6 separate regions of the Homo sapiens genome follow, and regions 1, 2, 3, 5 and 6 are each linked to region 4. The links are contacts of gene promoters, found by promoter capture Hi-C in human tissues and cell types (Jung and others, 2019). All regions are on one chromosome and are shown on one strand. The core of a region is centred on a gene start or on the middle of the fragment in contact, and the rest is flanking DNA. Distances in the headings are between cores, read along the strand shown.

Region 1 (3,334 bases), core at 358-2,857, 240 kb before region 4:
CACTTTTCCCAGAATCATTTATTGAAGAGACTGTCTTTTCCCAATGTATGTTCTTGGCAACTTTGTCAAAAATGGGTTCACTATAGGTGTATGGATTTGTCTTCAGGTTCTCTATTCTGTTCCACTGGTCTATGTATCTGTTTTCATGCCAGTACTATGCTCTTTGGGTTACTATAGCTCTGTAATATAATTTGAGGCCAGGTAGCATGATTCATCCAGTTTTGTTCTTTTTGCTCAGGGTAGCTTTGGGTATTCAGGGTCTTTTATAGTTCCATATAAATTTTAGGATTGTTTTTTCTATTTCTGTGAAAAATGTCATTGGTATTTTGGTAGGGATTGCATTCAATCCGTAGATTTCTTTGGGCAGTATAGACAGTTTAAAGATATTGATTCTTCCAATCCATGAATATCTTTCCATTTTTTTGTGGCCTCTTCAATTTCTTGCATCAACGGTTTCAAGTTTTCATTGTAGCGATCTTTCACTTCTTTGGTTAAGTTTATTCCTAGGTATTTTATTTGTAGCTATTATAATTGGAATCACTTTCTTGATTTCTTTTTCAGATTGTTTTTTGTTGGCATCTAGAAATGCTACTGACTTTCGTATGTTGCATATGATACATGACTTTTGTATCCTGCAACTTTACTGAATTTGTATTTGTTTTTCAGTTCTAATCGTGTTTTTGTGGAGTCTTTTAGGTTTTTCCAAATATCATCTGCAAACAAGGGTATTCGTCAATCTTCCTTTCCAATTGGGATGCCCTTTATTTCTTTCTCTTGTCTGATTGCTCTAGCTAGGACTGGCTATATCGAATAATAGTGGTGAAATTGGGCATCTTTGTCGTGTTCCCGATCTTTCAGGAAAGGTTTTCAGATTTTCCCCATTTAGTGTGATACCAGCAGTAGTTTAATCGTATATGGCTTTTATTATGTTGGGGTATGTTCCTTCTATACCAAGTTTTTTGAGAGTTTTTTTCGGGTTCTCATGAAGGTGCTTTCTTGTGTGGATAGTTGTTCAAATTTGGTGTTCCTATGGGGAAGATGATTGGTGGAACTCTCTATTTGGTCATCTTGCTCCACCTCCTCTTGCATAAGATTTCTTTCACTTAGCATGGAATGCTTTGGAGAGTCATCCATGTCATCACATTTAGCTGTAATTCCTTTCTTTTGTCATAGAGCAGTATTCCATCTACCCAACGCTCGAAATTGTCAGTCTTCCTTTTAGCCATGTGCAAGGATATGAAGTGCAACTCACTGTGGTTCTAATCTGCTTTTCCCCGATGACTAAAGATGTCAAGCACATTTTCATCTGTTTATTGGCCATTTATGTATCTTCTTTTGAGAAATGTCTGGTTAAGTCCTTTGCCCATTTTGAATGTGGATTGTCTGTCTTCTTGTTATGGATTTGTGGGAGTTCTCTATATGTCCTGGATATGAGTCCTCTGTCAGATATACCGCTGTGAATATTTTCTCTCAATCTCCCAGTAAAAATTGATGGGTCTTTTTGCTCACTAATTATGTCTTTTGAAGGTTTTATTTTCAATGATGACAAATTTATCCTTTCTTTTTAATGGGTAATGCTTTAGTGTCCTGTCTAAGAAAATTATTGGTTACCCCAAAGTCAAGAAGTTATTCTCTGTTTTCTTCTAGAAGCCGTATGTTTTTACTTTTACATGTAGATCCGTGATTCATCTTGAATTAATTTTTATATATAGGCCAGGTATGGTGGCTTATGTCTGTAATCTCAGCACTTTAGGAGGCCGAGGCAGGAGGATGACTTGAGGCCAGAAGTTTGAGACCAGCCTGGGCAACATAGCAAGACCCTGTCTCTACAAAAGTTTTTAAAAAGACTAGCTGGGCATGGTGCACTCTTGTAGTCTCAGGTACTTGGGAGACTGAGGATTGCTTGAGCCCAGGAGTTCTAGGCTATAATTAGCTATGACTGTGCCACTGCACTATAGGCTGGGGGACAGAGTAAGACCCAGTCTCTTAAAAAAATGTGTATGATGTAAGGTGGAGTGAAGGTTCATTTTTTTCCCCATACAGACATCCATTTGTAGAACATGGAAATCTTTTTGGCTGAATCTCACACATAAATTCTCCTGGTAAATTATGCCTGTTTTAAGAGTCTGTCTCCCAGAACTGATTTTCCAGCTGCTTCTAGTAGCCTCTGAATAGGCTTAGAAGATGAAATAATAATGGTGAAAAAACAAACACCTAGACTGAGTAAAGAAACAACAGCAGAAACAGCAATGGCCCATTTGTGATATTGTCTAGCCTTTAGCCTCCCTCATTGCCTAGGCTGCATTTGGCTTCCCACGGCCAGAGCCAAGGAGGGCAGAGGGGAAGGGGAAGCAAAACATGGAGCAGGATGAGGCAAAAATAGAAGCAAGTGTTGAGAAAGTCCCCACAGGGCTGAGCCAAGCTGGCCTGGAAGCTGGCTGGTTCTTTGGGGCCCTACTATAATTTGAATGCTTGTGTCCCCTCCAAAATTCATGTTAAAACTTAAATTCCCAATGCAACAGTAATAAGAGGTGAGGCCTTTAGGAGGTGATTAGGCCATTGAGGGCTCCATCATCATGGATGGGATTAGTGTCCTTTAAAAGGGCTGGAGGGAACTAGTTGGGATCCTTTTGCCCTTCCGCATCCATCATGTGTGGGCACAACAAGAAGGCCCTCACCAGACACCAAATGTTGGTGCCTTGATGTTGGTATTTCCAGCCTCCAAAACAGTGAAAAAATAAATTTTGTTATTTATAACTTACCCAGTCTCAGGTATTTTGTTACAGCAGCACAGAGTAAGACAGGTCCTCAGCAGGAATCTAGCTGTGCAGCTTCTCTGTGTCTCTCTCCTGGTATTTGTGGAGACTGGGAATATTAAGTCTCAGAGGCGCAAGTCAGATAAGAGGGCTGTGGGCCAAACTCTCCTCCAACAAGGCCAGAATGCCCTCTGCAGCACACAACCAGTGATCCAGAAGCTTGCTCATGGTATCTTATTCATTCAATTTGCCCTACCATCTTAGAAGAAAGATACTTATTACTTCAATTTTATAGATGAGGAAACTGAAGATCCAAGAGATTGAATATGCTTCCTAGCACCATAAGTTACATGTGGAGAATTAGGATTCTCTTTTCCACTTTCCTCTCCACTGCCTCTCATTTCCCCTGTGATCCAGCCCTTCCAAACCACGTGGTGCTGAACCAGTCAGACCACTGTATAACCACAGGCTTTCCCTCTTGAGAAACTTGCAAGCAAGCAAAAAAGAGATGCATGTGGGCCACTTCCTTTTCCACATTTTCCCAAAATAGCCTAAAATTCCTGTGAAACAGAGAGCAT
Region 2 (3,166 bases), core at 279-2,778, 150 kb before region 4:
TATTCTTAGCTCTGGGGAAAATAGCAGTGAACAAAATGGACACAAATGTAGACCTTGTGGAACTTACGCTTCAGTGTTGGGAGGAGACATTCAGATGACAAGTAAATATCACCTGGAATCCCAGTTACTTGGGAGGCTGGGGCAGAAGGATCACCTGAGCCAGAGTTCAAGACCAGCCTGGGCAACATAGCAAGATTCCCATCCCTAAAAATACCACACACACACTAAGGAAAATGTGTTATCTGTTAAGTGGTAAAAGTGCTGTGGAGAAAATGAAAGCAGGGAGGGGTGCCTAGATGGTGGTATAATTTAAAGTGAGGGGTCAGGATGGGTTTGCAGAGGAGGTGATATTTGAGTAAAGACCTCAAAAGGGTAGAGAAGGGCTCCATGGGGATACAGCTGGAAAAGAGCTTTGGAAGCTGAGCTCATGTGGAAGCCAAAGGGGAGTGAACCAGGGTTGTTGGAAAACCCTGGGGCCAGGGGTGAGGCCACAAGGGGCCCTGGGCATGACATTTAGGGAGGTGCTTGCTTTCCAGTACCCACTGCACTCACGGGTCTCTGAGCACAGGTGTGAAGGAGGGAAGAGTAATGAGAAGAGAAGGTGGTGAGAGGTGCTGTGTTTATGTGGGCTCTGCCTCCATCCTGTAGGATCCACAGGTGATTTTGAAACTTATGTCTTACTAAAAAATGGAGTTTTGGGGCTGGCACACTAACCTACTGACTTACAGAAAGTCACTTTCTGACTGCGTGGGCAGGTGACAGAGCGCTGGCCCGGGGCAGGCTGAGGCTCTGCCACTCACTGAGGGCGTCAGGTGGGTGAGCCATGTTTATTCATCCAGCAGCTTTTACAGAGCTCCCACGGCAGGAGATCATGCTGGCACCTGCCCGGTATTACTCTCTTCATCTATGACACGGGGACAGCGATGCCCTTCCGTCCACCCCATCCTTACAGGGGTGTTCCTCCTGAGGCAAGAATGCAATAGAAAAGCAAAACAGAATGTATGAGGCTATTTGCATTATCCATAATACAGAAAAAAATGAAAATAAGGTAGCTGTCCAGTGGTAAGGGGAGGTTTGGCAGACCATGGCACAGCATGCGATGGGTGGGTCATCACACACACAGATGTCAGTGACAGAGGCTGGGTAAGAACATGAGCATATTCATACTGTTACATCGAGGAAAAATACACAGTATTTAAGATTGCATGTATGTGGCATTTGTAGTCCTGTAAATATGTGATGATATGTATGCATATGGGGAAAACTAGAGGTGAAATTGAAATGAGTTATTTGTGGTGGGACTGTTTTTCTTTTGCAAAAATTCCTTTATTATTGCTATAATTGCATTCCTTCATTTATTAAAGTAATGAATATTTGAGCACCTCCTAGCTATCAGGCTCTGAGAAGGTGCTTGGGTAGAGCAGTGGACTGGACTGCACGGCTCCTGCCCCGGGGGGACCATGCTCAGTGAGCGATTCTTGAGCCCCCACCCCTTCTCAGCGCTCAAGGATTGAAGGCTAATGAAGTGGTGCAAAATTCAAACTTTCTGGAATAAAACGGAGAGTTGGTCCTCCAGGTTCTCTGCAGGGCGCTTGTTGAGCCAGTCCCAGATTCTGCTGAGAAACAGGGAAGTTTCCAGAGTTGCCACCCCCTCCTGAGGGTAGAGAACTCAGGGGTAGAGCTGGCTTGGCACCAAAAGGGCTCCCTGAGTCTTGGCTGCTGGGACTTGAGCAGTGCTGGGGCGCTGCCGGTGAGCTGTGATCCCATCTTCTCAGGGAGCGCCCCTGCCTGTTTGACTGTGGTGCCGTTGGTATGAGAGGTTGCCCCAGGAAGGAGACCGCAGCTGTGGGCTCATCTCCTGGGTGCCCAACACTCACAGGGTCCACATTGCCCGTGATGTGCCCTGGGAAGCCCATGGTTGACTCAGAAGGACTGAAATGTTAGACAGCCACAGATGGTCCCACTGCCCCCACTCTGAGAAAAGCCCTCTGGCTGTTTGGATGAGGGTGGTGGCGATGAGGACATTTGTAACTGCAGCACACATGTAAGGCCTGCTGTCTATGTTCTGGGCTCTCAGATAGCACTGGGAATACTGTACCCCACCAGTCCCCTCCATGACAGGAAAGGGGTCCCGATCCAGACCCCAGGACAGGGTTCTTGGATCTCATGCAAGAAAGAATTCAGGGCAAGTCCATAGAGTAAAGTGAAAGCAAGTTTATTAGGAATGTAAAGGAATAAAAGACTGGATGCTCCACAGACAGAGCAGCCCTGAGGGCTGCTGGTTGCCCATTTTTATGGTTATTTCTTGGTGATATGCTAAATAAAGGGTAGATTATTCATGCCTCACCTTTTCAGACCATACAGGGTAACTTCTTGACATTGCCATGGTATATGTAAAGTGTCATGGCGCTGGTGGGAGTGTAGCAGTGAGAACAACCAGAGGTCACTCTTGTGGCCATTTTGGTTTTGGTGGGTTTTAGCTGGCTTCTTTGCTGCAACCTGTTTTATCAGCAAGGTCGTTATGACCTGTGTTTTGTGCTGACCTCCTGTCTCATCCTGTGACTTAAAGTGCCTAACCATCTGGGAATGCAGCCTGTTAGCTCTCAGCCTTATTTAACCCAGCTCCTGTTTAAGACGGAGTTGCTCTGGTTCACATGCCTCTGACACCTCTAGCTGCCCTGGAAACACCAGAGTTTCGTTCTTACCTCCTATTATACAGGGAACTGAAGCCCAGAGAGGTGAGTTAGACTCTTGAGGGCACACCAGTGGTGACAGGCTGAGATTAGAATTGTAGTCTGGCTGATGACCAAGCCCATACCTTTGCAGTTTCTTTGTCACAGCTCACTGGACTGTGGGGTGGTACAAGTTAAAAATCTGTCTACATAGGGAAAACGGTGATGTATAGACCCCTGTCTGCCTCCTGCTCCACTTCCGGCCCATCCCTCCCAGAATGCCATCATAGCCCCTCCACTTCTACGCCAGATGCTTCAGGGGAAGTTCCCTGTTCTCTTCTTTTTTTTTTTTTTGAGACAGGGTCTCACTCTGTCACCCAGGCTGGAGTGCAGTAGTGCAATAACAGCTCACTGCTGCCTCGATTTCCTAGGCTCAAGCAATCCTCCTGCCTCAGCCTTTTGAGTAGCTGGGACTATAGATATGCGCCACTACA
Region 3 (3,306 bases), core at 115-2,614, 170 kb before region 4:
AAAAACAAAACCAAAAAAACAACTGTCTATCTACACACACACACACACCCTCGGCTGGCCTGAGAGGTAAAAGAAACATCCCATAGGACCTGCTGAAAGAGCTCCTGAGGCACGCTGGAGCCTTTCTTGTGTGCCATGCACTGTATCTGGCACTATAAAGAGGGTACAATAGCTAGTGGCTTCTGCAATCAAGCAGCTTACAAGAGAAAATTGAGAGGGGAGACATTTTTTCTGGTTGACAGATGTCGAAAGCATGAAGGTGTGGGAGCTTTGATCAGAGACTTGGTTTTTCAGTTTTGCCAGATAATAGAACGCATGGGGTGAACTAATGGGAGAGGAGGGTGAACAGATGGGCAAGGCTTGATTGCTGGGTTAGGAGGCACAGAAATGCACAGAGGACAAAGGACTACCAGTCCTTGGCAGTACTGTACTGCTCCATGGCCACTACCTGGGTCCAGGGCCACATTCAGATCTGAGGTTAGATAGTAAGAATTGCTAACATTTATCCAGCGACCACATGTGCCAGTAATCAATCTAGGTGCTGTACATGTATTAACTGATTCTTCATAGGAACCCTATTAAAGAGTTATTTGATGAGGAGAGTCGGGCATTCACTGGAAATCGAACGTGCCCAAAGTCTCACCCTAGACCGTGGTGGAGTCAGAATTTGAATCCTGGCCACTTGCTCCGAAGCCACCGACAATTCAGTGTGCTGTCCCCCGTGTCTGGGCTGGCTTGGTGGGCTGGGAATGGCGGGGGAATGGGACACTTATTTTGGCAGGTAAATGTGGTTCAGAAGAAAGCTCTTCGTCTTTCTCCAAGCCTGAGCAATCGTTTTGGCGCAGGCAGTCCAGAGTAGAGCGCTTTGTGAGCCAGCTACAGAAGTGCTGTAAGCCCCTTCCCACTAGATGGCAGCCCCTAAACCCACATACAAATCCTGGAACCTCCCTGGTCCCCATCTTCCAGGGCTGGGCTGCAGCTGAGGAACTGCGGGACGCACACCCGCCGGGCGTCCAGGGGGCGCCGCCCCATCCGGGGGTCGCGGGAAGCTCCTAGGCCGGGTGGGGGACGGAGGCGGACGGGGAGACGCTGCTCCCCCGACTCTCGGCGCCTGGGGGAGGAGCTGGCGCGGAGCAGCTCCACCCGGGGCTCCCGGTTGGGGCCGGCCCTCACCGCCTGCCTCGCCGCGGCCGCCGGGAGGGGAGGGGAGAGGAGGGCAGGGAGGGCGGCGCGGGCGCGGTCCGGGGCCCCGAGGGCGGAGGCCGGCGGCAGGTGCGCGGCGTGGACTACAAGTCCCAGCATGCCCGGCCGCCCTGACCCAGCCCCCGCCGCCGCTTAAAGGCTCCGGGAGCCGCAGCCGTCGGGTCGCCGCGGCTTTCGCTTTGCTGCCGCGGCTGGGAGGGTGGAAGCGGCAGACTCAGCGGCCGGCTCTACCGGCGTCCCGGCTCGGGCAGCGCCGAGGGGCGCTCCTGGTCCAGCTCTCCTGGCTCGGGGGTTCCTTGCCGAGGCGCCCGCGCCCCGGGCTCCCAGCCTCGGCCGCCGCGGCCCCGATGCCGAGGCATGGATAGAGCAGCGCTGCGCGCGGCGGCGATGGGAGAGAAGAAGGAGGGCGGTGGCGGGGGGGATGCGGCGGCCGCGGAGGGAGGCGCAGGGGCCGCGGCCAGCCGGGCGCTGCAGCAGTGCGGGCAGCTCCAGAAGCTCATCGACATCTCCATCGGCAGCCTGCGCGGGCTGCGCACCAAGTGCGCTGTGTCCAACGACCTCACCCAGCAGGAGATACGGACCCTGGAGGTAAGTGGGTCGGGGACCAGGCTGGGCTCGAGGAGCGGGCCCGGACACCTCCCTCCGGGCCCCAGTACTCCTGGCCGAGTTGCATCCTTGAGCCCGCGTCGCCCCCCTTGGAGGCTTCCCCTCCCTCCTGCACTCGCTGATGCGGCAGCCGGAGGACCCGGGACCAGCCCTCATCTTGGGCAGGATTTGTGGGGCGGGTGCGTCGTGGGAACTGGGATGGAGGCTCGAGGGGCCCGTGCGGGGTGGGCTGCGCGCGGACATCCCCTTTCCCCCCTTCTCCGCCCCCACCCCATTTCCAGTTTGCGGGGCCGCAGGACTCGTTGTCCCACCGAGTCACAAGCTGGACTTTTCCCCGTGTGACTGAGCCGAGCACCCGTGGGCCAGGGTGACGGAGGAGGTTCCCCTGAAGCGTGATCGCAGGCCTGCCGTCCCCTGTTCCCCTCACGCCCCAGACGCCGTCCTGTCCCTTCCTTTCCTCTCCTCTCAGGTCTTGTCTGCCGCCTTTTCAAAAAGTGTTGCTGAAACTGCATTTTTGTTATTCAGGCGTTTGGTGCTTTCCTTTCACGTTGCCACGGAGGCTCGCTGCTTAAAATGTATTAATAATTACCCGCTGACTCCCCCTGCTTCCCCCCAAAGATTGGATTTAGGCTTAGGAAGGATTATGCTGGGAAGCAAGCCTTTGGTGGGAAGATGAAACTGTTTAAAGGGTTCTGATGGAGACAGTCTGGAGTGTAAAGAAGAAATAAGATATGCGGGCCTTCCTCTCTCAAATTATAGCTGGGGAAGTATCTGAAGGATTTGGAAAAACCAGCCCGAGGGTTGTTGGGGCACCCTGTCCATACACAAATGAGGGCAACTAGTGGATTCTGAATGTGATTTTGGCCAGGGACGGGGCGGTGAAACGTCAGACCAGTTAATAGCTGCCCCGTCTTGAAGAAGGAACCTCTCACCATCTTGCCCTGCCACATCTGGCCTCCTGCAGGTCTGGGGATGTTTTGTTTTATTAGATCCTCAATTTCTCCTCCCCCAAACCCTCCCCCCGCCCCTTATTGCTAATTGCCTCTGCCAGCTGTCATAAGGCCCTCTGTGATCGCGGTAATTATTACAAGACCAATCCTTCCTCCAGGCATGCCACAAAGCCGAATCCTTGTTTGATTCCAAATGCTCGGGGGTGACTCTCCCTCAGTTTTATTTTCTTAAAAGCTATAAAACCACAGGACATTGGAAGAATACAGTCAGTGCTGGGTATTATTATTTTTTATTACAGTTGGCTAAAGCTGTACTGACCAAGGCTTTGCTTAAAAAACAAACAAAACCCCCTACAACTGGCCTTTCTGCATGCATGCTGCAGTTTTCCAAGTATTGAGAGAAACTGATTTTTTGAACACAGCTGAGTGTGTTTGCTCAGCAAAGTTCAGTTTTTAAGCTGACAACAATAGGGGGCCTGTGAGGCTCAGTTCCGGGAGGAGGGGTCGCTGTCTGGCAGAGTGTGCGTGGTTGGACTTCGGTGTTGCT
Region 4 (3,243 bases), core at 251-2,750:
GCGTGATGAGGGTTCACTACAGCCTTGACCTCCTGGGGTCAAGTGAGCCTCCCACCTCAGCCTCCCATGTAGCTGAGACCACAGGTGTGCACCACCACACCTGGCTAATTTGTTTGTTAAATTATATGTAGGGACAGGGTCTTCCAACCTTTCCCGAGCTGGTCTCAAGCTCCTGGGCTGAAGTGATCCTCCTGCCTCAGCCTCTCAAAGTGCTGGTATTATAGGCATAAGCCACCACGCCCTGCCCATTTTTCTAAGTTGGATTATTTTACACTCCAGTCTGCTGTGAATGAGAGTTCCAGTTGTTGCGTATCGCAATCAATTTGTGATTGCCTACAAATGATGTGCCGTGATGAAATTGTCCCTGGTGTCCGAGAGGATCGCAAAGAATTTCCCTTCCTTTCTCTCCTTTCTGCTCCCCTTGTACTGTCTACTCCTTAAACTGGTACTTGATCCAGGAACATAATGGGGATGGACAGTGCAGATGGCACACATGGCCTCAGTCTATTGGAGCATCTCAAAGGAATTAGTCTGCAAATTCTAGTGCATCTAGGTGGAGCACAGGAAGGAAGAGAGGTGCAGACTCACGTATGGCCCTGGGGCACCTGCCATCCTCTCGCACCCGTACAGCCCTTACCTGCCAGCACTTACCCTACCCAGCTTGAGTTCTGGGCCTTCTCACCAGCACATCGCTGGGACCTGGTCGACTTCAGGTAAGTTTATTTCATGGCTCCCTCCCCCACGACCTGCACATGCCATATGTTCCTTCCCAGCCCCATGTCACTTGAAATGTTCTATCATGTCCAAGACTTCTCTCCTCATCCTAAAGTGCAGAAAATAAGGATGGAGAAGAGAAGGAGAAGAGAATCAAGAGAGATTCATTGAGAGGGAGGATCAGAAGCTCCTGGGCACCCCATACTGTAGAATAAAAATATTCATTATGGTGTTTTTCTTGCAAAATATTCCCCTCTACATAATTATGTTTTTACATGAATAATATAAATTTAAACAGGAGAAATACTTTTTGAAGAGTCTGAGAATCTTCATAAAGTTCAGGCGGCCACGAATTAGCTGTGTGACCTGGGGCATGCCCCTTAGACTCTGAGCCTCAGCTTCTCTGTATGTAAAATGGGTTGAAGCCGCCCTTCCCCACAAGCACCCTGTGCACAGGCAATGCCCAGCCCCATTATTTTCTGGACTCCGTGGCCAAGCATGCTTAGGACACACAGCCACATACTTCTGGGCAGTGTCATCTGGCAACTTGCTGTCATGTCAGTGTGGTCAAGCATTGTAGACCTCTATGAACCAAATATGCTTCAGGCTTGGGTTGAGCACAGGAGAGGGAGGAGGGAAAGGTCACTGGGGCTGGGAGTGCCTACTTCCCTCTGTGAGTGTCACCCCAGTCCACCCAGTACCATACCTTTCTCTCTCTGGACCCACTTCCTTTTGCTGCCGGCTCCTCCCCATTGAATAACAGCCAAGTTGCTTTGGTTTCTATTTCTTTGTTAAGTCGTTCCCTCTACAAAGGACTTCCTAGTGGGTGTGAAAGGCAGCGGTGGCCACAGAGGCGGCGGAGAGATGGCCTTCAGCGGTTCCCAGGCTCCCTACCTGAGTCCAGTGAGTTCCAGGGCTATGGGCACAGGGCTGCCTCAGCCAGAGGGACACAGCTCTGGGGCTCTGAGGAAGCAACTCCTGGGTGGCAGGGGATGGGGGTGGGGGCATCCCAAAGAGAACACAAGCAGGGCAGAAATATCAGAGGAGGTCATCCTGGCACACCTGTGCCGTGCTGAGCTCACTCATGCCTGGAGGGATGCTCCTTCCCACGAGTCATGGCTTTGACAGTGTTGACTGAGCTGTCCTGTCCTGTCCTGTCCTGTGTGCTCAGGGGAAGACATGTAGAGCGGGGTGGTTCATGTAAAGAGGAAGCAAGCACGCTTCTGGGACAGTAAGGACGCTACCCGGCATGGTAGTTAAGGGTGCTTACTGTGAAGGTGGCCTCCCTGGGTCCAGCTATTTACTGGCTGGTGGTCTCTGGGCCTCAGTTTCCATATCTGTGAAGTGGGAATAATACTTGAGCCCCCCACTCCCAGGGTTGGGATATGGATTAAGGAAGTAGTGTATCTAGTGTGTTTGAACAGTGCCTGACACACTGTAGGTGCTTTGGGAGTGTTTCATGTTATTGGGTGTCTGAGGGCAGCAGGGAAGACCTCCCGAGGAGGTGTCTGTGCTCTGAAGGTTGGGCATGGGCATGTTCAGGGCATCTGTGGAGGGGCAGTCTCAGAGGTGAGAGGGGGGTGAGGACTGTCCCTGCAGCGTGGGGTCAGAGGGCGGCAGGTGCCTTGCTGAAACCCTGTGAGGTTTATGAGTCCCCTTCATACACGGAAAATCTGAGGCTCAGGGAGGCAGAGGCCAGTTGCCAAATGCCTCCAGATGGGAGTGGCAGCCCCAGGAGCCCAGGAGACTTCAGGGGTCACTGTGTCCTGGGCCGGCTCCTGTCATAGGATCTCACCCCGCCTTGGCAAAGAGCTTCCCGAGGGGCTGGAGAGGGTGGGCTGATGGGTCCTTCCTGGGTGGGGAGGCAGGGTGGGGAGGGTGGGCAGAGGCAGGGTACTGAGGGAGGGAAGCTGCCATGGCCCACCTCAGCAGAGGCCAGGGTCGGGCTTGAGTGCCCCCTGGTGACACTGAGTCCAGAATGAGGCTGCCTACGTTCTGGTCTGCAGAGCTCGGCTCTGCTTTCTAAACTCCAGAGAGAAAGAATGGGGAAAGGAGGCCTGTTTCCTCCTGGCTGTCACCAATGACACCTCAGCCACCCTGTGGAGGCCCCTGAGGTAGGACCTGCACAGAGGGGGCTGGGGGAAGCTGGAACAGGCCGCTGGTGGGGGCCTTAGGGTCAGCAGGTGCTGCCTTGGGCATGTCACCCTGTCTCTGGTTTTCTGTCAAAGAGGGGATCCCAGAGCTTCTTCCAGGTTCTGACATATTATTATTCTGGTGACTGGTTTTTACTTTCTAATCCTTGGATTCAGAAGGAAAATTATCCTACGGACATCAGAGAGTTAAAACAGGGCCTTGGAGTCCAGACAAGAAAGATGATCAGTGCAGCCCCTATGGGTGTCCAGAGTACCCCTCTACCCCACGGGGGCTCCCCTGGGTTGGGACAATTAAGCCTCACTTGGTGACCCATCTGGCAGTCGGAGCCACGCTTCCTCCACATGCCGACAGTGGGGGAAGGTCACGCGGTTCGCT
Region 5 (2,976 bases), core at 417-2,916, 140 kb before region 4:
GTGGTACTTTGTGTAATTTATTTCCTAGTTGGTGTTTTCTTTCAAATTAAAAAGGAAGGGAAATAAAAGTATGCTGGTCATCATAGAGGTGAGAAAATGACTCACAAGGGGGCGGTGGATTTGCCCAGGGTCGCCCAGGTCTGTGTGGGGAAGTGGCCGGCTGTTTAGTGTGTGCAGCAGGAGAGCTCAGGGGCTCCGACTGAAGTTAGTCTGCTGGGAGGCCCCTTGCTCCTGCCTTGTTTTTGCCCTCACAGGCTGGCTCCAGGGCTACACTCCTGCTATACTCTGCTCACCATCTGTTAAGGGAGCAGTTGGTAGGCTGTGAGCAGCGCCTGCCTCCCTCCCATGTCTAATTTAACCAGTCACCCTTCTCTCCGTCGGCCTCCACCAAGGCTGTGGGATCATTCTTTAATTACTTACAGGGGTCAGTCACCTGATGGGACGCCTTTGCTGGAGACAGACGGTACTGACAAGCAGATTAGTTGCACGTTGGGAGGTGGGAGGAGGGAGGAGACGAGGAGAGTGTGTGTAGCAGATACGAGTGGGTGGCTTCAAAATAGAAATTCATGAAGGCTCTAGGAAAGTAATTTTAAACACTGTTCATTTAGAGGCTGTGGTTCAGGGGTGAGCAAAGCTGGAGGCAGCCCACCCAGCACATGTTGACCTTGCTTTCCCGTCAGACTTGGGAGGGAGGAAGGCAGGAGTCTCCTCAACTCACCTTTGCAGAGCTCTGAAACTGGGTCTGTTCAAAGTTACACCTGCTCGTTTCTTGTGCCCGTGAATTCCTTTCTAGGAATGATCAGGCATCCATAGGCAAGATCTTCCTCGAGAGTCAATAGACCTGAGCCCAAATGTCAGCTCTGTGTCTGAGCTGCCATGTGACCTTGGACAAGCTGCTTCCCTTCCCTTGCTTGGGCTGAGTTTCTAACATTCCCAACTCAGGGGATCAAAAGAGGTGAGTCCTGTGGACTTCCACAGCTCTAGAATGTTCTGTGAGTAATATGCCCCTACTTGCTGTTTGCAGGGAGGCAGCCATGAGTTAGATAAAGCCCCGGAATTCGAGGCATCCATCCCTTCATGCTGGCCACCAAGCAGACCTGTGGATGTTGACTTGTCTCTTGTCTGCCCATAGATGTTGGCTTGGAATAGGGAGGAGGTGGGACTTATTTTGAGCCCGAGTTCCCCATGTACAAAATGGGGCTAACAGGATTTGTCTTGCAGGGTAATGAGGATTTGTGAAAACATGGTTGAATTCCTGGCACATGGTAGGTGCTCATTAAATGGTGTTATACACTTAGTACTTGGCATTCCCAGCCTTACTTTTTGTCTTTGCTGGAAATATATTCCATGCGGGGAGGGAAATGGGAATGATCTTACTTTATAGATGCCACTTCATAGAAAGCATTGGCACTGGGATTGCCAGCCTTTCCCAAAGCAGTGTGTGTTCCTTCATCATTCTGCTGATGATGATCATTTATGGAGCAATTTACTATGTGAGGTACATGATAACCCCAGTCTCCTTTAATCCTCGTGAAACCCTATGAAGCAATAAGGGACTATTATTATCCACACTTTATACATATAAATGAAGAAAGTGAGGCTTTGTGAAGTTGAATGATGTTCCCAAGGTCACCCAGTTAGTAAATGCTGAAGCTGGAGTCCTCAGTCTTAGTTATTAATGTAAGCTTGCTTTTCAGGACAGAGAGGGCTTTGGAGGACCAGGAAGGGCTCCAATTCTGAGGCAAAGGCTGTGAAACACCGGGGTCAGGCAGGAAATCATGCCCTTGAATTCTTTAACAGGGCAGATTTTTTAAGTCAGAGACATTAACGATCAGCTCCGTATAATGTTTATGGCCTGTGTGACCCTGCCCCGTGGTGCTCGGTAGACCCCACTGCCCATGTGTGCCTGATGATTCCATTTCTGTCTTGCTTATTGCAAGTGACCTTGAATTACCTAAAACCCAGGGAAATGTGTTCTTAATCTGCCCTTTTAACAATGCTGATTTTACCCTTCCAACTCAGATTTAAATAACCTTTCCTTCTGTGTTGTCGTGAGTGTAAAGAAGCAGCATCATGAAAAAGCCCAGCCCTAAACTCTCTGTAATTATGGGGTATGGTGGAGAGGGAGGGGCACTGAAAAGGAAATAATGGGGTCGTGAGACCATTGGAAATTGCACTGGTTATATTCAGTAGCAGAGCTGGAGATTTTTGCCTGCTGCTGGGAAAAATTTAAAAAGCAAAACAACCTCTGCCTCAGCCTTGGAGGTTTAGCTGTTGAATTTACTCCCTTTAATTTGAGGCACCTGAGGCTCCCATTTTGTGGTGTGATTGGCTGGACTTTCCACCACTTCTTCCTCTCTCTGGCCAGAGAGAAACTTGGGGACGCTGAGGTGGTTTGTAGCAGCTGTCATCAATGTCCGCCTTTCATGTCCACAGTGGTTTGGAGCAGAGGCCCAGAAATGCTTGGGGAGTCTCTGTGAATTCAGAAGAAGTCTCCTTCTCCCACTCCGCTGTCTGACAGCAGGTTAAAAAAAAAAATTACAAAGAGCTTCCAGGAACAAAAAGTGGAGATGATTTTTTTTATGGCCCTTAAAGACTTGAAATTTGCAGGAGAAATGCCGTGTGGTTGCGTAATTCTATATGTGGAGTATCTGGAATTATTCCTGGAGAGGCGGGCAAGCACCCAGATTAGAGATGTGTAAAGTGCAGTTTTGTCTTGCAGTCCAAGCAGGTGAGCATTCAGGCCTGTGGGAAGGAAGGAAGGGAACAGCAGGTGGCAGTAACTGGGAAGCTTGCCTCTGAGTGAGATTAACTAGAATGTATTTTTCCGCTGCATTTAAAGAGCCAGTGAAAGGGGCAGATTTACCCAGGGTCACGTGCCTGGTCAGTGCCTTAAATGGACCCAGGGTGTCAGCCCCCTCTGCCTCGACTTCAACAGAGTTAATGTTTCCCCAGAGACTAATAGAGGGACCGATA
Region 6 (3,205 bases), core at 32-2,531, 190 kb after region 4:
TCCAGAACTGGGTCCTGCCACCCCAACACCCTGCTGAGAACAAGGCACATTCCTTAGCACTCAGGGTAGGAGAGAGGCGGAGGGATGGAGAGGCTTCAATCCCCCTTCTCGGGAGACAAAGGGCTCTTCATGATTTAATTAAAATGCCCATCAAAACCTCAGAAGATAGGGGTTAGTTGAGATGAAATAAAAATAGTTGGAGTGAACACATTACAATTTCATTTCATTTCAGGGATATCTATGAGGTTCTAATATTAGAGAGAGACTTAATCTATCACTAAATTCCTATCTGGCCTGCCACACTGGGGGCATTTCTGAAGATGTCCAAATTCTGTTTTGAGAGGCCTGGAGAGTCCTCCGTCCTTTGTTTCTCTGTTCGAGGAGAACCACAGAGTGTGACAGTGTTTGGTATGTGGCAGGCACTCAATCAATATGTGCAGAAGGAAGGAGGGAGTTTCTTCTTTACTCCTTTAAGCTTCAGATTTAGAATTTGCCTAATCTTGGGGTGAGACAAAGCCTTGAGACCTCCACAGAGGTTTCCTTTGCATGGACAACTTTTCCTCCAGATAACACATGACTCACTTCCCTGCACTTCCAGTCTTTGCTCATGTGTCACCTCCTCACTGAGGCCAGCCTTGCCACCCCTATTTAAAATGACAGCCCTCCTTCCCCCAACCCTCCTGACCCCCCCACCTTGCTCTGTGCATCTCCCCCAGAGCTCAACCTCACACCTTACATCATTTACTTACTATTTGTTCATTGTTTCTCCTCACTAGAATGAAGGCCCCACAAAAGCAGGGATTTTTGTCTGTTTTGCTTATGGATGTATAAGTGCTATGCATAGTGCCTGCCTCAATAAATATCTGTTGGACAAATGCATTGATTAATAAGGCAGAGAAGAAATTTTTGTTAATTGCAATTACTATTGCTTTCCAAAGAGAGCAGACTCCAAGGATAATCCCGGGATAGTACAGCCCACAGATCCGAAGGTGCCTTATTCCCAGGCGCAGCTTCCCCACAGACTCCGGGTGTTCAGGAATAAACCCCGAGTCAGGGAATGAAATACTCCTCCAGCATCAACCTGAGGGCCAAGGCCCTACCTCCACACCCACTCCCTGGCTCGGTGCCCATCAGCCAAGTCCAAACCCACACAAGTTGTTCCCACTCTGGAAATGGTGGGGGAAAAAAACCAACATCCAGTGCCAGAAATCAGTGTGATGTACACAAAAGCTGCTTTTTTGCCTTTTGCAGATGCAGAGTGGCTGCCCAGGCTCACGTAGCCAGAGAGCAGGCCCTGGGGAGTGGTCCAGGAAAGCACTGGACAGTAGTCATCTGTCTGGAAAATATTAGCCCACAGTCTGATGTCTTCAAAACCTGAGCCAGGTCACCCTTTCTCTTTCACTGACAGAAATAAACAGTTCTTGGTCTTGAAATACACAGGACTTTCCCCAGTTACTGCTGCTGCTAGCACTGGCTTACTTAGTCTTTCATGGTTTAGAGCCTGTTTTCCTCCGGAAGCAAAATTTGGCTTGAGCGATATGAAGAGTAATGAAAACATTTTAAAATGCAAAGCTGGGTTCTTTTTCCCAAGGGTAGCTTCTTGGAAATCTCTGGTTTTTCCAGCAACAGCTGAAAAATTGAGGCCTAATGGATACTCTGTGTTACAAAGTCAGAGAACTCCACAGATGGAAAGAATCAACCTCCTTTCCCTGGATGCCCTTCATTTTAGAGCTGATGACGCCAGATGACGCTAGATGCCTAGAGCATCTAGACCCACTCCCCTTCATTTCTTCCTCCTGACCCATAGTCTAGAGACTTTGAAAACACTACAGGTGTTCAGATTCCATTTAAAGACTAGAGCTCGACATTAAATGCAGCCTTCCTATCACTATGTATGGGGGAGAGATAGTCTTTTCACTAAATGGTACTGGAACAATTGGATTTTTATATGAACTATAATGAACATTGACTCCTACCTCAAATCAAACAGAAAAAGGAATTAAGACAGATCATAAACCTAGATGTGAAAAGTAAAGCAATAAAGCTTCTAGAGGAAAACAGGAGAATATCTTCATGACCTTTGGGCAGGCAAAGATTTCTTAAACAGAACACAAAAAGCACTAACCATAAAGAAGAGATTGTTAAATTGGACCTCATTAAAATTAAAAACCATCCTTCATTAAAAGATATTATTAAGAAAGTGGCCAGGTGTGGGGCTCACACCTATAATCCTAGCACTTTGGGAGGCTGAGGCAAGAGGGTTGCTTGAGCCCGGGAGGTCGAGACCAGCCTGGGCAACATGGTGAGACAACATCTCTACAAAAAAAAAAAGTAATAATAACCAAGCATGGTGGTGGATGCCTGTAGTCCCAGCTACTTGGGAGGCTTAGATGGGAGGATCACTTGAGCCCAGGAGGCTGAGGTTGCAGTGAGCTGAGCCAAGATCATGCCACTGTATTGCAGCCTTGGCAACAGAGCAAGACTCTGTCTCCTGTCTTAAAAAAAAAAAAAAAAAAAAGTGAAAAGGCAAACTGTGGACTGATATCTAACAAAGCATTTGTGTCCAAAATATATATCAAACTTCTATAAATCAACAAGAAAAAGACAAGAAAACGACAAATAATTCAATGTTTAGAAATACTAGAAAATTCTTACTTCACAAAGGAGAATATCCAAGTGACCAACAAGCATTTGAAAAGGTGCTCAACATCATTCATCTTGAGGAAAATGCAGATTAAAATCTGCAATGAGATACCACGATGCACCTACCTAAATGGCTATAGCTAAAGAATTTGACTGTATCAAGTGTTCTTGAGAATGTGAAGCAACTTTACTAGTGGAGTGTGCTTTGGTACCACTGCTTTGAGAAACTGCTTGGCAGTAACTACTAAGACAATAGCACAAAATGTGTGCATAATATGTTCACCAAACACAGTGCAGCACTAATCATTGCATCCCAGACTGGAAATAACCCAGATACCCATAACAGGAGAATGGGTAACTGAATACATAGTGCTTTATTCATAATTATTTCTAATTCTCATCATAACTCATTCTTCCATGTCGTATATTCATGATTATTTATAACAAAATATTGTACAGCAGAGATTGGTGAACTGTGACCCACAGGCCAAACTGTAGCCTACTTTTTGTTTGTGTGTTGCTTATTACTGCATTTGAGCTATGATGGCAGGGTTGAATAGTT

What was found. The method cuts DNA at HindIII sites, captures the fragments that hold promoters and counts their contacts. A contact is called where the count stands out against the background at its distance.
Region 1: a contact is called between a fragment that was not itself captured here and the fragment with the promoter of LGALS9 in region 4, in 3 of the 25 tissues and cell types used here (mesenchymal stem cells, mesendoderm cells and spleen).
Region 2: a contact is called between a fragment that was not itself captured here and the fragment with the promoter of LGALS9 in region 4, in 1 of the 25 tissues and cell types used here (spleen).
Region 3: a contact is called between the fragment with the promoter of KSR1 here and the fragment with the promoter of LGALS9 in region 4, in 2 of the 25 tissues and cell types used here (H1 embryonic stem cells and heart left ventricle).
Region 5: a contact is called between a fragment that was not itself captured here and the fragment with the promoter of LGALS9 in region 4, in 4 of the 25 tissues and cell types used here (aorta, ovary, spleen and 1 more).
Region 6: a contact is called between a fragment that was not itself captured here and the fragment with the promoter of LGALS9 in region 4, in 2 of the 25 tissues and cell types used here (lymphoblastoid cells and thymus).

Annotation. Positions count from the first base shown.
Region 1 is chr17:27,393,891-27,397,224 of GRCh38, forward strand. No RefSeq gene overlaps it. Among named protein-coding and RNA genes, the nearest start is that of KSR1, 61 kb to the right of the region's middle. The HindIII fragment of the contact is 3,243 bases long and covers 1-3,229 here.
Region 2 is chr17:27,474,705-27,477,870 of GRCh38, forward strand. All of the region lies in intron 1 of KSR1 (kinase suppressor of ras 1), which reads left to right. Among named protein-coding and RNA genes, the nearest start is that of KSR1, 20 kb to the left of the region's middle. RefSeq lists enhancers at 697-1,210, 2,359-2,653. The HindIII fragment of the contact is 6,136 bases long and covers 1-3,166 here.
Region 3 is chr17:27,455,084-27,458,389 of GRCh38, forward strand. KSR1 (kinase suppressor of ras 1) reads left to right here and starts at 1,365. Exons shown (of 21, transcript NM_001394583.1): 1 at 1,365-1,791. The coding sequence starts at 1,561. RefSeq lists silencers at 895-1,654, 2,175-2,224 and an enhancer at 1,030-1,531. The HindIII fragment of the contact is 18,960 bases long and covers 1-3,306 here.
Region 4 is chr17:27,629,688-27,632,930 of GRCh38, forward strand. LGALS9 (galectin 9) reads left to right here and starts at 1,501. Exons shown (of 11, transcript NM_009587.3): 1 at 1,501-1,617. The coding sequence starts at 1,579. RefSeq lists enhancers at 1,126-1,943, 1,411-1,530. The HindIII fragment of the contact is 14,549 bases long and covers 1-3,243 here.
Region 5 is chr17:27,491,625-27,494,600 of GRCh38, forward strand. The region is part of intron 1 of KSR1 (kinase suppressor of ras 1); the gene reads left to right. Among named protein-coding and RNA genes, the nearest start is that of KSR1, 37 kb to the left of the region's middle. The HindIII fragment of the contact is 3,331 bases long and covers 2-2,976 here.
Region 6 is chr17:27,817,355-27,820,559 of GRCh38, forward strand. No RefSeq gene overlaps it. Among named protein-coding and RNA genes, the nearest start is that of NOS2, 18 kb to the left of the region's middle. The HindIII fragment of the contact is 5,954 bases long and covers 1-3,205 here.